Regions from separate parts of the Homo sapiens genome. Here regions 2 and 3 are each linked to region 1. Evidence: promoter capture Hi-C in human tissues and cell types (Jung and others, 2019). All regions are on one chromosome and are shown on one strand. The core of a region is centred on a gene start or on the middle of the fragment in contact, and the rest is flanking DNA. Distances in the headings are between cores, read along the strand shown.

Evidence for each region. The method cuts DNA at HindIII sites, captures the fragments that hold promoters and counts their contacts. A contact is called where the count stands out against the background at its distance.
Region 2: a fragment that was not itself captured here is called in contact with the fragment with the promoter of C1QTNF9B in region 1 in 1 of the 25 tissues and cell types used here (lymphoblastoid cells).
Region 3: a fragment that was not itself captured here is called in contact with the fragment with the promoter of C1QTNF9B in region 1 in 1 of the 25 tissues and cell types used here (lymphoblastoid cells).

Annotation. Positions count from the first base shown.
Region 1 is chr13:23,895,305-23,899,766 of GRCh38, forward strand. It overlaps C1QTNF9B (C1q and TNF related 9B), which reads right to left and starts at 2,198. Exons shown (of 5, transcript NM_001007537.3): 1 at 2,114-2,198; 2 at 1,818-1,922; 3 at 1,517-1,702. The coding sequence starts at 1,682. The HindIII fragment of the contact is 9,082 bases long and covers 166-4,462 here.
Region 2 is chr13:24,175,326-24,179,787 of GRCh38, forward strand. All of the region lies in intron 1 of SPATA13 (spermatogenesis associated 13), which reads left to right. Among named protein-coding and RNA genes, the nearest start is that of MIR2276, 15 kb to the left of the region's middle. The HindIII fragment of the contact is 6,907 bases long and covers 1-4,462 here.
Region 3 is chr13:24,155,636-24,160,097 of GRCh38, forward strand. It overlaps a transcript of SPATA13 not described here. Among named protein-coding and RNA genes, the nearest start is that of SPATA13, 2.9 kb to the right of the region's middle. The HindIII fragment of the contact is 8,626 bases long and covers 1-4,462 here.

The DNA of each region.
Region 1 (4,462 bases), core at 948-3,447:
CAGACCCCAATCAGTAGACATTTATATGTTTCTACATTATGCACAGGTAGTATATGAAAAATATGTTTGGTATAAAACATACACAAAAATACACTTTAAGATGGTAAGATAAAAATGAAGTAAATTTTTAGTGTGAGCAATGTGATTGAATGTCCTTCTAAGAAAGAATATATATTACAAATAATACTTATGAATTACATAGAAAAAATAGATATAACATTTGCTTCTAAGAAGTATGTAAAACTTGAAAGAATGGACATTGGTGAGCAGAGGAGAGAAATTCAACACGGAAGAGGTAGAGAAATTTGGTATTGAATATAGAAGTGTTTGTCTTAGTTCTCTGTATTTTGTATCACCTATTTATCTCCTTTTATGTGTAATATTTTATAACAAAAATTTAAAAAATGAAAATCCTAAACATTCAGAAATAAAATACACACAGACACAGACATACACACACACACACACACACACACACACACCACTGTGGTCACAGTGTGAGGGCAGAAGACCTGATTTCATTAAGGGTAAGGTTTTAGTATTCATTTGGACTGGGCTATTTGCTACCGGGGGACTGGAACAGTCTCAATGAGCTGGAGATGTGAGGAGCCAGGAGAAGACACCTCACAGAGCAGATGTGCCGGTTAGAAAGAAATAAAGTTGCTTCCTGGTGACCCTTGGCTTCATCCAGCCCATTCAAAAAACTATCAGGCCACCAAATGCCATAAAGTGAGACATGTTAGAAACACAAACTTATTTGTAAAAAGGTCCATAGAAGTTTTGATATTTTCTTTCTAATGCCACTGAACTGTGCTCTTAACCCAGTGAATCATTCTGCATAAGTCTTAGATATGTGACCCTATGGTCAAGACCAGGCCTCAAGAATGGTACCCCATTCAGAAACCAAGTCTATTGGTTGTTGTTATGGAAAGCACTCAGACTTCCAGGCTTTGGCAAATCTCCCTCCCAGAGGATGGATTCTGTCCCCAGATCCCCAGACCCTGCCTAGGTCATAGATTCATAAGCAGCAGCTGTATGTGTCATCTGTCACTCCGCATCTCCTGCTTCATGACATGATATGGTATTAGCTCTCACCTGCACTGCAGCTGGGTGCTTGCTGCCAAATAATTCATGATCAGATCTCTCTATTGGCCTCGTGTTGCCAAAAATCCAACATACCTGTCACCTGAGGTGGGAGGATCCATGACATTGTATACTACTGAAAATGTCCTGCGGTGTCAGAGATGAGAGAACCCAGGAGGGCAGGGGTCATGGCGATCTGGCCCTGTGCTCTCCACCAGCACCTGGCACAGAGTCTGGCATGGAGCAGACCCCGTGAGTGTTGCTGGGCAGATGGGTGGATGGATGAATGGGGTCAGGCTCCAGTGAATGTTGCTGGGTGGATGGATGGATGGGTTGTGAGTGGGTAGGTGGAAAACCACACAGATGATGAGTGAATGAGATGAAAGTAATGAAGAGAGAAGCTCAAAGGCAGCCGAAGCCGTCAGGTGAGTACCTGCATCGCCTTTGTCACCCTTCGCTCCGTCTCGTCCATCTCTTCCAGGCAGACCATTGTGACCGGGGTTCCCAGGGATTCCAGGGTGCCCTTGCCTGCAGGTGTCCTGTGAGTTTATGTTCCCTGTGCAGATTTCAATGGCAAGCAGAAGCCACCAGATCCTCATGGTTCAGATGACAGACTGAACTGAAAGAGGGAAACAGAAACCCAGAGGAGAAACCTTTGTTGCTGGGGCCCTGGACACAGCCTCCGTTCTGTGCAGTGGGAAATGGATGAGCTGTCCCCTGCCCCAGACCCACACCTGGACAGACTTGGCAGAAGACTCAGGGCAGGGGAGCAAGCTGGTTATTACCAGGATGACATTGTCCTTGGAAGGTAACACTTGTGATTGGAACCACTCTTCAAGCTGAACGGGCAATAAAAAAAAGCCAAGTTTAAGGTCAGGATACTCTTCCGTTCATCATTTCACTTTGAAGAAATCACTTCTCTTAACCACAGACCAATGCTTACTTATCTCACAGGACTATTGTAAAAATCAAATTTTATCACAATATGCATAAAGGCACATGACAAATAGTGAAGCAAACATAGCATTACCATCTGATCCAGCAATTCCACTGCTGTGCATCTACACAAAATAATTGAAAGCAAGGACTAGAACAGATGTCCATGTTCGTAGTTGCATTATTTTCCATAGCAACCCAAGGGTCCCTCAGTGGATAAACAGATACATGCAATGTGGTAGGTCCATACAATGGAATATTCTTCAGCCTTAGAAAGAAAAGAAATTCTGACATGTGTTACATGAATGGACCTCGAGAACATTATGCTAAGTGAAACTAGCTAGTCACAAACAGACAGACCTGGATAACTTCAGTTATAAGAGGTTCCTAGAGCCGTCAAACTCATATAAAGAAAAAGTAGGATGATGGTTGCCAGAGGTGAAGAGAGAAGGAAATGGGAGTTGTTTGATGGGTACAGAGTTTGGGAAGATTTTAAAAGAGTTCTGGAGATGGGTGGTGGTGATGGTTGCACAACAAAGAGAATGTACTTAATGCCACTGAACTGTGCCCTTAAGATGGTTAAGCTGGTTAGTTTTATGTTATATATTTTTTTTACCACATTAAACAATTAAATTAAATTTTTAAAAAAGTAAAGCATTCCAAACAGTCTTACTGTAATGAGAGGTATTCTTTGAGTCAGGGTCTTGTTTTTCTAGGAGGCCACTGTGAAGAAGGGCCACACACACAGAAAACATCACCTAGTTCGGGAGAAGTGCATTTTCAAGTCCTTTCCTCTGTAGACACTGCCCCCACCCCAGGTTATCCATGCAGTTTCCCCCGCAGCAGGAGCTAAGACAACGCTTGGGCAGTGCTCCAAACGGAGCAGCAAACGCAAGGCCTGGAAGGAAGATGAAACGTGGATGGCTGGGCCTCCTGACTCAGCAACGCTCCCACTCAGGGCTGTGGAGCACCCTGTTACTCTCCCACATGGCGCTTGTCATGGCAGGGGCTTGACACTTGTTTACATAATTGTAGGATGAAGAATCTGACTCCCCGCCTGACTGTATTTCCTCATTATTGCCTTCCCAGTACTCAATATTAAACTTGGAACAGCAGATTGAACAAATACTTGTTGAATGAAATTAATGTATCATCATGGGAGATGTCTTAGGATATATATATAATTTTTGGAGACAAGGTCTTGCTCCATCACCAAGGCTGAAGTACAGTCATGCAATCACAGCTCACTGTAGTCTCAACCTCCCAGCTCAAGTGATCCTCCTGCCTCAACCTCCCAAGCAGCTGGGACTACAGGCATGCACCACCACACCCGGCTAATTTTTTTTTTTTTTTTTTTTGAGATGTAGTTTCACTCTTGTGACCCAGGCTGGAGTGCCATCTCTGCTCACTGCAAACTCCGCCTCCCAGGTTCAAGCAATTCAGCTTCTCGAGTAGCTGGGATTACAGGCGCCATCACCACGCCCGGCTAATTTTTGTATTTTTAGTAGAGACGGGGTTTCACCATGTTGGCCAGGCTGGTCTCAAACTCCTGACCTCAGGTGATCTGCCCGTCTTGGCCTCCCAAAGTGCTGGGATTACAGGCATGACCCAATGCCACTGGCCCTAATTTCTCTTCTCTTCTTTTCTTCTTTTTTCCTTCCTTCCTTCCCTCCCTCCCTCCCTTTCGTTTTCTTTCTCGCTTTCTTTTTTTTTTTTTTTTTTTTTGAGACTGGGTCTAACTCTGTTGCCCAGGCTGGTCTTGAATTCCTGAGCTCCCACCTCAGTCTCCCAAAGTGCTAGTATTACAGGCTAAAGCCCCTGCACCTGACTTTTAGGATTTAAAAAATTAAAGTAAAACAAAAACGTGGGCCTAGTGCAACTGGTCAGAACCCAGATCCTCTCACAGTGCTGATAGCCACGTAAATCTGCACATCTTTCTGGAAAAGTTAAAGAGCAAAAGACATCTATGTCTTTCACCCTGTATTCCTATCCCTAAAGTTCTTCCTAATGTTCCAAAACTGTGTGCCAATTGTGTGCCATTACCTGCAGCATTATCTATAACAGGTGAAAAAGTGCATACTACATACTATGTAACAATAGGGGAAAGGTTTACTATGTGTAATAGTATGTAACTGCTGCAATAATCATGAAGGTCATGTAGAAATATGTGAATGATATATGTTGTGCTGAATTTTGATAGCAGACTAAAATGCCATGCACATTATAAATGTACTTAACGACTGTATGAATATTGACAAAAACTCAAAGTGAGTATGTGCAAATAAAGATGGTTGCTTTAGAATGCGGGGCAGTTATGGGAGCTTTTCATTTAAAAAATGCTTTTTTATAGTGCCTACACAAATATTTCTAGATTTTGAAAACCAGCAAGACTCTCTGTCATCCAAAGACTGTATTGCCATCTGGTGGAAATGTCACAGGGTGC
Region 2 (4,462 bases), core at 846-3,345, 280 kb after region 1:
TCATAGTGCCTAGCAAACATAGGGAGGCTAAAAGTCTACATTGCCAATTTAGGGCAACTTTGACAAGGAGAGAGAGGAGTTAGTGTTCTCTATTGATAATTTAGGTACCAAAGAGGGGCCATTTCATCGCACCATTGTTTTAGAATTAGAAACTCTGAAGAAAACCCAGCTTGATCTCAGAATCAGAGTCCAGACAGCTAAACTTGCCAGTTAGGGCTAGAAGAAAGGGATGTGTTTCAGAGTTGTCTATCTAGATTTCTTGTTGAGTAATGTTTATGAGTAACTACCTTAATGTTTACCAAGTATTTATTTAATTACCAGTTTAATTAGACTTAGAACAGGGAAATGGATCATTACTATAAAAGCTAGGTTATTCATCTCTTCTAAACAGTTTGTTGACTACCTCATCTGTTCCAGACATAGTGCTAGTCCCTGAGGATATAAAAATAAACTAGAGAGACACGGATCTAGGTGTCATTTTTCTTCTCCCACAGGAGAGAAACTTTAGAAATCCCAGTGGCTTCTATGCAGAGCGATTACTAGAAAACATAAATAAATTTCTCCTTGAAGATTATTTTAGTTGCAAATAATGCAGCTTAAATTTGAAAAGCGATAGTTAAAATACTCTGCAGGAAAACTACTGCATGTTTTATGACATGCTAACAGAGTCACCTTCAACTCAAAACACAGCATCCTCTGCGTGTCTCCTGTCTGCTGGGTACTGGAGCAGGCGTGGGGGATCTGAGCTTGCTCAGCTCCTGGTGTATGCTTCTTTCTTAAGTGTGATTGTTACAAAGGTAGAGTCCAAGTGTAAATTTCTCAGGCTTTATATCCATTTTTTGTTTTATTTCTTGAGAAATTGAAGCCTCCATATACACTGCAAAAAGTTACTTATGCCTGTCTTTTCCATAACACAATTTTATAAGGACTATCTACATAAGTCATGTTGAACTTAAACAGATCTGGTGTCAGTACTAAAGTTGTTTATGTTTTGTAAACACCCCATTAGTTTAACCCATTTTATTTACCAGTTACAACTTTGGAAGGGCAGCAAAGACCTTGGTCTATTACTTTTCATGTAATCTTTACAGAAAAGTTGGAAAATACAGCCAAATAAATCATAGTATTTGCTCTCTTTTTCCCCATGATGTCACAGTTTCCTTTTAATTTCTGCTTTTCAGATCACAAAAACATGTTATTTTCCCAGCAAACTAGATCCTTTGATTAATGGGACCAGGCAAGTCCAAGGACAGATTAAGCACGCTGGGTCCTGGCAGGAATCCCAGAAATGACCCTCAGTCAGCCTTCTTTCTCTCACCTTGGACCTGTTTCATTGAATTTACTGTGTTTTCTGTGAAAATGGAGCTTGGTAATTTCTCTAAAGAAGTTCACATATCTAAATGATAATGAAATGATTGATTAGCTATTAATTATTAATAGATCACAAGTTCATGCTGTAGTATATAATTTTTTTTTCTTTTGAGATGGTGTCTTGCTGTGTCACCCAGGCTCACTGCAACCTCCGCCTCCTGGGTTCAAGGGCTTCTTGTGCCTCAGCTTTCTGAGTAGCTGGGACCACAGACGTGTGCCACCACGCGCAGCTTATTTTTGTATTTTTAGTGGAGACAGGGTTTCGTCATGTTGGCCAGGCTAAGTCTCAAACTCCTGACCTCAGGTAATCCACCAGCCTTGGCCTCCCAAAGTGCTGGGATTACAGGCACGAGCTGCCGCACCCAGCCTGTAGTATATACTTTTGTTAGTGAGCCTCCTTTCTCTCTAGTACAAAAAGGAGTTGAAAATTACCTTGTCAATTCTGTTTCTTAATTATTCCTTAATTAATCAAAGAATAGTGGACACAAACGTTGCTTTACTTCTCTGACTCAGTTACTTTTAACAATTAAGAAATTTTTAATAGATATGTGAAAAAAAGAGATCAGATACTTTCATAATAATTTAGGCATATGTCAGTGTGTCTGGCTGTGCCTGGCCAGAAATTATAAATTTATTTCTTACAGCTCTGGAGGCTAGGAAGCCTAAGACAGAGGTGCCAGCAAATTCACTGTCGGCGTGAATGCCTGCTTTCTGGTTTATAAATGGTGCCTTCTTACTGTGTCTTCATATGGTGAAGGGGGCAAGGGTGTCTCTCTTAGGCCTTTTTAATTTAATTTTTATTTTTTTAGACACAGTCTTACTCTGCAATCGTAGTTCACTGGAGCCTCAAACTCCTGGGCTCAAGTGATTCTCCTGCCTCAGCCTCCCCAGTAGCTGGGACTACAGTTGCATGCCACCATGCCTAGCTAATTTTTTAAATTTTCTGTAGAGACAGGGTCTCCTGTGTTGCCCAGGCTGGTCTTGAACTTAAGTGATCCTTCCACCTTGGCCTCCCAAAGTGTTGGGGTTACAGGCATGAGCCTGGCCATTGGGCCTTTTTAATAAGGGCTCTAATCCCATTCAGGAGGGCTCTGCCACCATGATCTAATCACCTTCTAAAGGCCCTATCTTTCAATATAATCACTTTGGGGATAGGATTTCAACATATGAATTTTTTTTTAATTGGGCCTCACTTTGTCACCCAGGCTGGAGTATGGTGGTACAATCATGGCTCACTGCTGCATCAAATTCCTGGGCCCAAGAGATCCTCCTGCCTCAGCCTCCCAAGTAGCTGGGACTATGGGTGTGCGCCACTATGCCTGGCAAATTTCGTTTTTTGTAGAGATGGGGTCTTATCATCTTGCCCATGCTGGTCTTGAACTCCTAGATTCCAATGATCCTCCCACCTTGGCCTCCCAAAGTGCTGGGATTACAGATGTGAACCACCATACCCGGCTTGATTGTTTTTTAAACTGGGAATATCTGCACCAGATCAACATAAAAATTTCCAGAAGGCGCAAACGTTCCAATAATAACAGCTCCTACCATTCACTCCAGAAGCCACTGCTTGCCACCTCTGCCACCTGTGAGCATGCTCTTGAAAAATACTTGTGGAATTAGCAGAAATGTATTGAACTGCATTATGATACGGCTGCAAGGAATGAGTAGACATCATTTTGATACTTCTGAGGAACATGCATTTTTTTTTAACTGTAAGAGCTTTTTTGACCATTATCTTATGACATCACTTGTATACAGTTATTAATAGTACTAATTGCTTCTTGGCCTTTTGGCTATGATCAAGTATAGTTATTTACAGTAGTAGTAATAAGTACCCTAATAAATGAGCTTACTCTGTGCCATGCATTGCTAGGAAGGTATTATTATCTGTATAAGAACAAATAGAGGATCAAAAAACTTAGTGAACCAAGTAGACCCAGTCTATCTAATGGCTGAGCTGGGATTATACCCAGCATTTTGTACTGTGCCATTTCTGCCTGTTACCACCTTCTGTCTAGGTTAAAAATTGACACCACAGCACAGCAACTGGCCTCTTTGTTTCTTTTTTTTAACAGCTTTATTGAGATCTAATTGATATGTAACGCATCCATTTAAAGTATATAATTCAGTTGTTTTTAGTGTATCCACGGAGTCATGCACTCATCAATTACCATAGTCAATTTGAAGACATTTTCATCCCCTCCGAAAGGAAACCCTGGACCCATTAGCAGTCCTCATTTTCCCTCAAGTCCCCAGCCCTAGACAACCACTCATCTATAGTCTGTCCCTCTACATTTGACTATTCTAGACATTTCAATAAATGATTCATACAACATGTGGCCTTTTAGGTCTGGCTTCTTTCACAGCTTAATGTTTCAAGGTTGATCCCTGTGGTAGCATGAATCAGTATTTCCTTTCTTTTCATTGCTGAATGATACTTCATTGTATGTATGTACCTCATTGTATGTATTCATTCATCAGTTGATGGACATTTGGGTTGTTTGTACTTTTTAGCTGTTAGGAATAATATGCTATGAACATTTGTGTACAAGTTTTTATGTGGACATCTGTTTTCATTTCTCTTGGGCATATACCTATGCGTGGCATTGCTGAGTCAAATGGTAACTCAGTGTTGAAATTTTGGAAGAATTGCCAGACTATTTCTCAAGCAGGCATGCACCATTTTACATTTCCATCAGCTATGTATGGGGGCTCCAGTTTTTAAACTGATGTGTGCTATTTAAAAATTTAAAAATTGTGGTAAAATGTATAAAACATAAACTTTACCATTTTAACCAGTTTCAGTGTACAGTTCAGCCATAGTAAGTACATTCATTGTTATGCAACCAATCTCCAGAATCTTTTTATCTTGCAAAACTGAAACTCTGTACAGATTAAATGCAAGTCCCTATTTATCCCACTCCCAGCCCCTGGCAACCTCTATTTTACTTTCTGTTTCCGTGTCACCAACACTTTTTCCCATCTGCTTTATTGATTCTAGCCAGCTTAACTAATGTGTCTGAAGTGGCATCTTATTTGGATTTGAGTTGCATTTCTCTGATGCATGATGATGTTGAACACCTTTTCATGT
Region 3 (4,462 bases), core at 656-3,155, 260 kb after region 1:
GATTCTGGCCTGCAGATTAGAAAATGGGACATTTTTAAAAACTGTGGTAAAATACACATAAGACTTACCATTTTAACAATTTTAAGTGTGCAATTCAGTACATTAAGTACATTCATATTGTTATGCAACCGTCACCATCATCCATCCACAGAACATTTCTCATCTTGCAAAACTGACATTCTGTCCCCATTAAGCAGTAACTCCCCACTTTCCCACTGCAGCCTCTGGCAATCACCATTCTACTTTCTGTCTGTGAATTTGCCTACTCCAGATACCTCATATAAGTGAAATCCTACAGTATCTGTCCTTTTGTGATGGGCTTATGCATTTAATGTAATGTCCTCAGGGTCCACCTGTGTTGCAGCGTGTGTCGGAATTTTGTTCCTCTTTAAGGCTGAGTGATATTCCATTGTATGTATTTACTACATCTTGTTTATTCATCCATCCATTGATGAATACTTGGGTTGCTGTCACCTTGTGGCTGTGTGAATACTGCTGCTATGAAAGTGGGTGTACAAATATCTGTTCGAGTCCCTGCTTTCAGTTCTTTTGGGTATATCCCAGAAGAGGGATTGCTGGATGATACGGTAATTCTAGTTTTTTGATTTTTGAGGAATTGCCATACCTGTTGTCCACAGCAACTGTGAGGACAGCGTGAGACCGTTTATTCTCCTCTTTTGCCTGTAGCTGCCCTGCCCATTCGTATTCCCCCCTCCAAACCCAGGTGTGATGGGGGCCCTGTCTCCGAGCAGACAGGGAGGCACCGTAGATGGCACACTGGATCTGGCTCCTGGCCCACCCCATCTGTACTCTAGTCCTTTGGCCTTGATGACCCATTCCTGGAGGCAAAATGCTTTCCTCTCTGTGCCTCAATTAATTGGGTTTCCCAGCACCCCAATAGCCAAATAGATACTTATGTGCTAAGATAATGTGATAAATGCCAAACATTATTCTGTCATCCTAGGAAGCTTCAAATTAGAGAGAGATCTGCTCTAGTAAACTGTAGAATAAAATATAGCAAACGCACCTTATCCATTCTAATCAATGATAGCCACCAGTTATTGAGCATTTGACCACGTGCCAGGCAGTGAGCTGGGACTTTACATACATTATTACACTTAATTTTCACCATAAGATATCACAGATAAGGAGCCGGTCAAAGTGAGGTTATGAAGTTTTCCTAGAACCCACATGGACAGAGAGCAGAAGAGGCTCAGGTTCTCTCCTGCTCTCTTGGGTCTTGCCTTATGTGCCAGAGGCATCTGTGGTTCAACCAACCCCCTTTTGTCCCCTGCCACCTTCACAACCAACAAGATGCTGGAGGCTGCTAGATGAAGATAAAAATGTCAGTGATATTACTGACAAAATCATCTGGAGAATGAGTGCACAATTGTTGCTAATGATCTCTGAGTGACCTCCCAGCTCCTTTGCCTCTGCTTCCCTAACCCGGTCTAGACCTTAAGTTACTTCCTCCAGGTGAAAGTCTGGTCTGTGGCATCCAGACACTGACCGCAGATTTCTCCCAGCCGTAGTCTGGGCGGAAAGGTTAAAAAAGAGTGAATACTCTGTGCTGTTAATAAATTAATAAATCAGGTTATTCTATCAAGGGAGTCTACCAATGGATTTCTCCAACCAGTCAGGTAACTCCTTTTTCTTTTTTTTCTTTTTAATATATTTTTTTGAGATGGAGTCTCGCTCTGTCACCCAGGCTGGAGTGCAGGGGCGCGATCGCGGCTCACTGCAAGCTCCGCCTCCCGGGTTCACGCCATTCTTCTGCCTTAGCCTCCGGAGTAGCTGGGACTACAGGCGCCCGCCACCACGCCCGGCTAATTTTTTTTGTATTTTTAGTAGAGACGGGGTTTCACCGTGTTAGCCAGGATGGTCTCGATCTCCTGACCTCGTGATCTGCCCGTCTTGGCCTCCCAAAGTGCTGGGATTACAGGCGTGAGCCACGTGCCCGGCTGGTAACTCCTTTTTCTGCAGTAGAGGGTGGGGCGGAAGCCATACGGGTTACTTTATAGGAGCTCCTCAAAGAAAAAAAACTGAAATGAGGAGAAAGGAGTTTCCTTTCTGCCCTGTACCTCTTGAGAAACCCCTGCTGAATGGAACTTTCAGCAGATGGAATACAGCATTGCTTCTCCCCAACCCTGGGGGAGCTCACAGCACTGCTTTGTTCAGAGCATTTTCAAACAGGAGCATGAGATCAAATCCTGGCTCCACTGCTCACCAGCTGTGTGACCTCAGATGATTCGTTCAACCCTTCTAACTTCATTTGCCCCATATATAAAATGAGAAGGATAACTGTACCTCAAGGATTGTCTTGAGGATTTAAGAAAATGATGAATGTAAACAACGTGGCATAAGTGTCCAACAAATATTAAGGGAAAGACACATTCTAGTTTTGGAGATGTTATGTGGAACAACAACAAAAAAAGCGCGTTAGACTTAGTGAGAGGTGGTAGTTTCTATCCTTAGACACTCTCCTGCAGAAAGCATCAGTGTTGTTAGGACGAACTTGGGTGAAAGTTTTGAATATTCAGGCTCCAGTTAGAGTCTTGAGTACCAAAAGATCAGCAGAGAAGAAAAGAGGTCACCGACCTTTGGAGGTTCCCACTTGCAGGAAACAACAGAATGCAGATGCCGGCCTTGTCTGCGAGGCTGTGAGTGATGGCGGCCATGTGGATAGAGAGCCATGTTGACAGAAAGCCACTGCGGGAGACCTAGGCTTTTACACAGAGGCCACATTGTGATTCCCGCAGGAATGGTAGAAATGGAAGGAAATTTAGCTATTGCTCGTCCTAATCTCTGACTTAACAGAATGGAAAAGCAAGAATAAGCGTCGGCTGGTGATGTACTCCCGTGATGAACACAGCTGGTTAGAGCCAGGTTGGACTGCGCCGCCTCTTCATGTCAGATCAGTGAATTTTCTCTTGAGCCATCCTGCCTTCCTCTAATAGATTTGTAATCTGAACCCAGACATATCTTTTATCCCAGGCGCTCAAAAGGTTTTCACTGAAACCCTGAAAAAAATATTTTTTAAAACTCACAAACAAACAATCAGCAAGCACCTGTATGTGCTAAGTTGATAGATAGTAAGAGTCTTACATGGGCTAAAGTTTTAATTCTCCACCCAATGCAGAGTGAGGTCCCACTGTCACCGGCTCACTGACGAGGAAGCTGAGATTCAGCAAGGTCCAGCACTCGCCCAGGGCTTGTACAGGGCCTCAAGGATGCGGGGGTCTTCAGGTCTAGTTGGTATCACTCCACAGAAATCCATTCATCTGAGGGCCAGGCCTGTTTCCCAAGGACATAGTTTCAAATATAGTGCTTTCTTCACTATAAAAAGTATTGCATGTAAATGTTAATAGTGGTTTCCAAGTAGGCAGAAATAACCTTTTGAAACACAATTTTTTTAAAAGAAAAATCAAAATCTGCTCCTCAGATTTGTGCTAATTCTAAAGAGATAATAAAAAAACCCTCAATTTAGACCGTGATATTTTTTTTTAAATAATACTAACATAGATTTCATTTTAGCATTTGTGAGTGCTTTGTGCAGATTTTTTATAGAGTAGAAATAAAATGGAACAGTCAATGATATTAGCCTCACATACTATGTTTCTAAAATTTTCCAAGGTTTGGTTTTTATATTTTTTCAGCTTTAAAAATACATGGTCATTGTTAAAACTTGGGGTAATTTCAATAACAATTCAAAGAATTAAATAAAATTTGCCCATATTTCCACCACCCACAGATAATTATCATTAATCTTGGAGTGTGCTTTAATTAATAGACTATTTTTAGAGCAGTTTTAGGTTTAGAAAACAGGAATGGAAAGTACACGGAGTTCTGATGTACTCCCTCACGCCCCTCCCTCCACACACAGCTGCTTGTACTGACATCTTACATTCGAGTGGCACATGTGTTATGATTGATGGGCCCATGTTGTTACATTAAGATGAACTAAGTCCATTACTTACAGGAGGCTCACGCCGCATGCTGTTCATTCTGTGAGTTTTGAGAAATGCATAATGACATGAAGCCACCATTATAATGTCATACAGAGTTTTTTCAATATTTTAAAAAACATACATAAAATTAATTTTCACTTTTCATTGGGTAATATAATTTTTGTTTTTTATTTTACAGATTGTGGGTATTGTTCTTTGATTATAAAAGACAATAGACATTTATAAATAATAGTGCTGGCCACTAAATGAATCATCTAAAAAACTACACTGGTAGAAAGCATGCATTTATTTTATGAATTCCATTAGCTGCCTATCAGGGAACATGGAGCACTGGGGCACAGATCCCAGCACAGAAGGGTTTGCTTCTCTTCTGTGGTTTTCATGTCAATTAATGATTAGGCCTTGAGCCTCACAAGAAAGGTGATAGGCCTTTGAGTCGGTTTACTGCAACAGTCTACTCAAGACTTGCCCCAGGCCCTGGGAAACATGTAGGT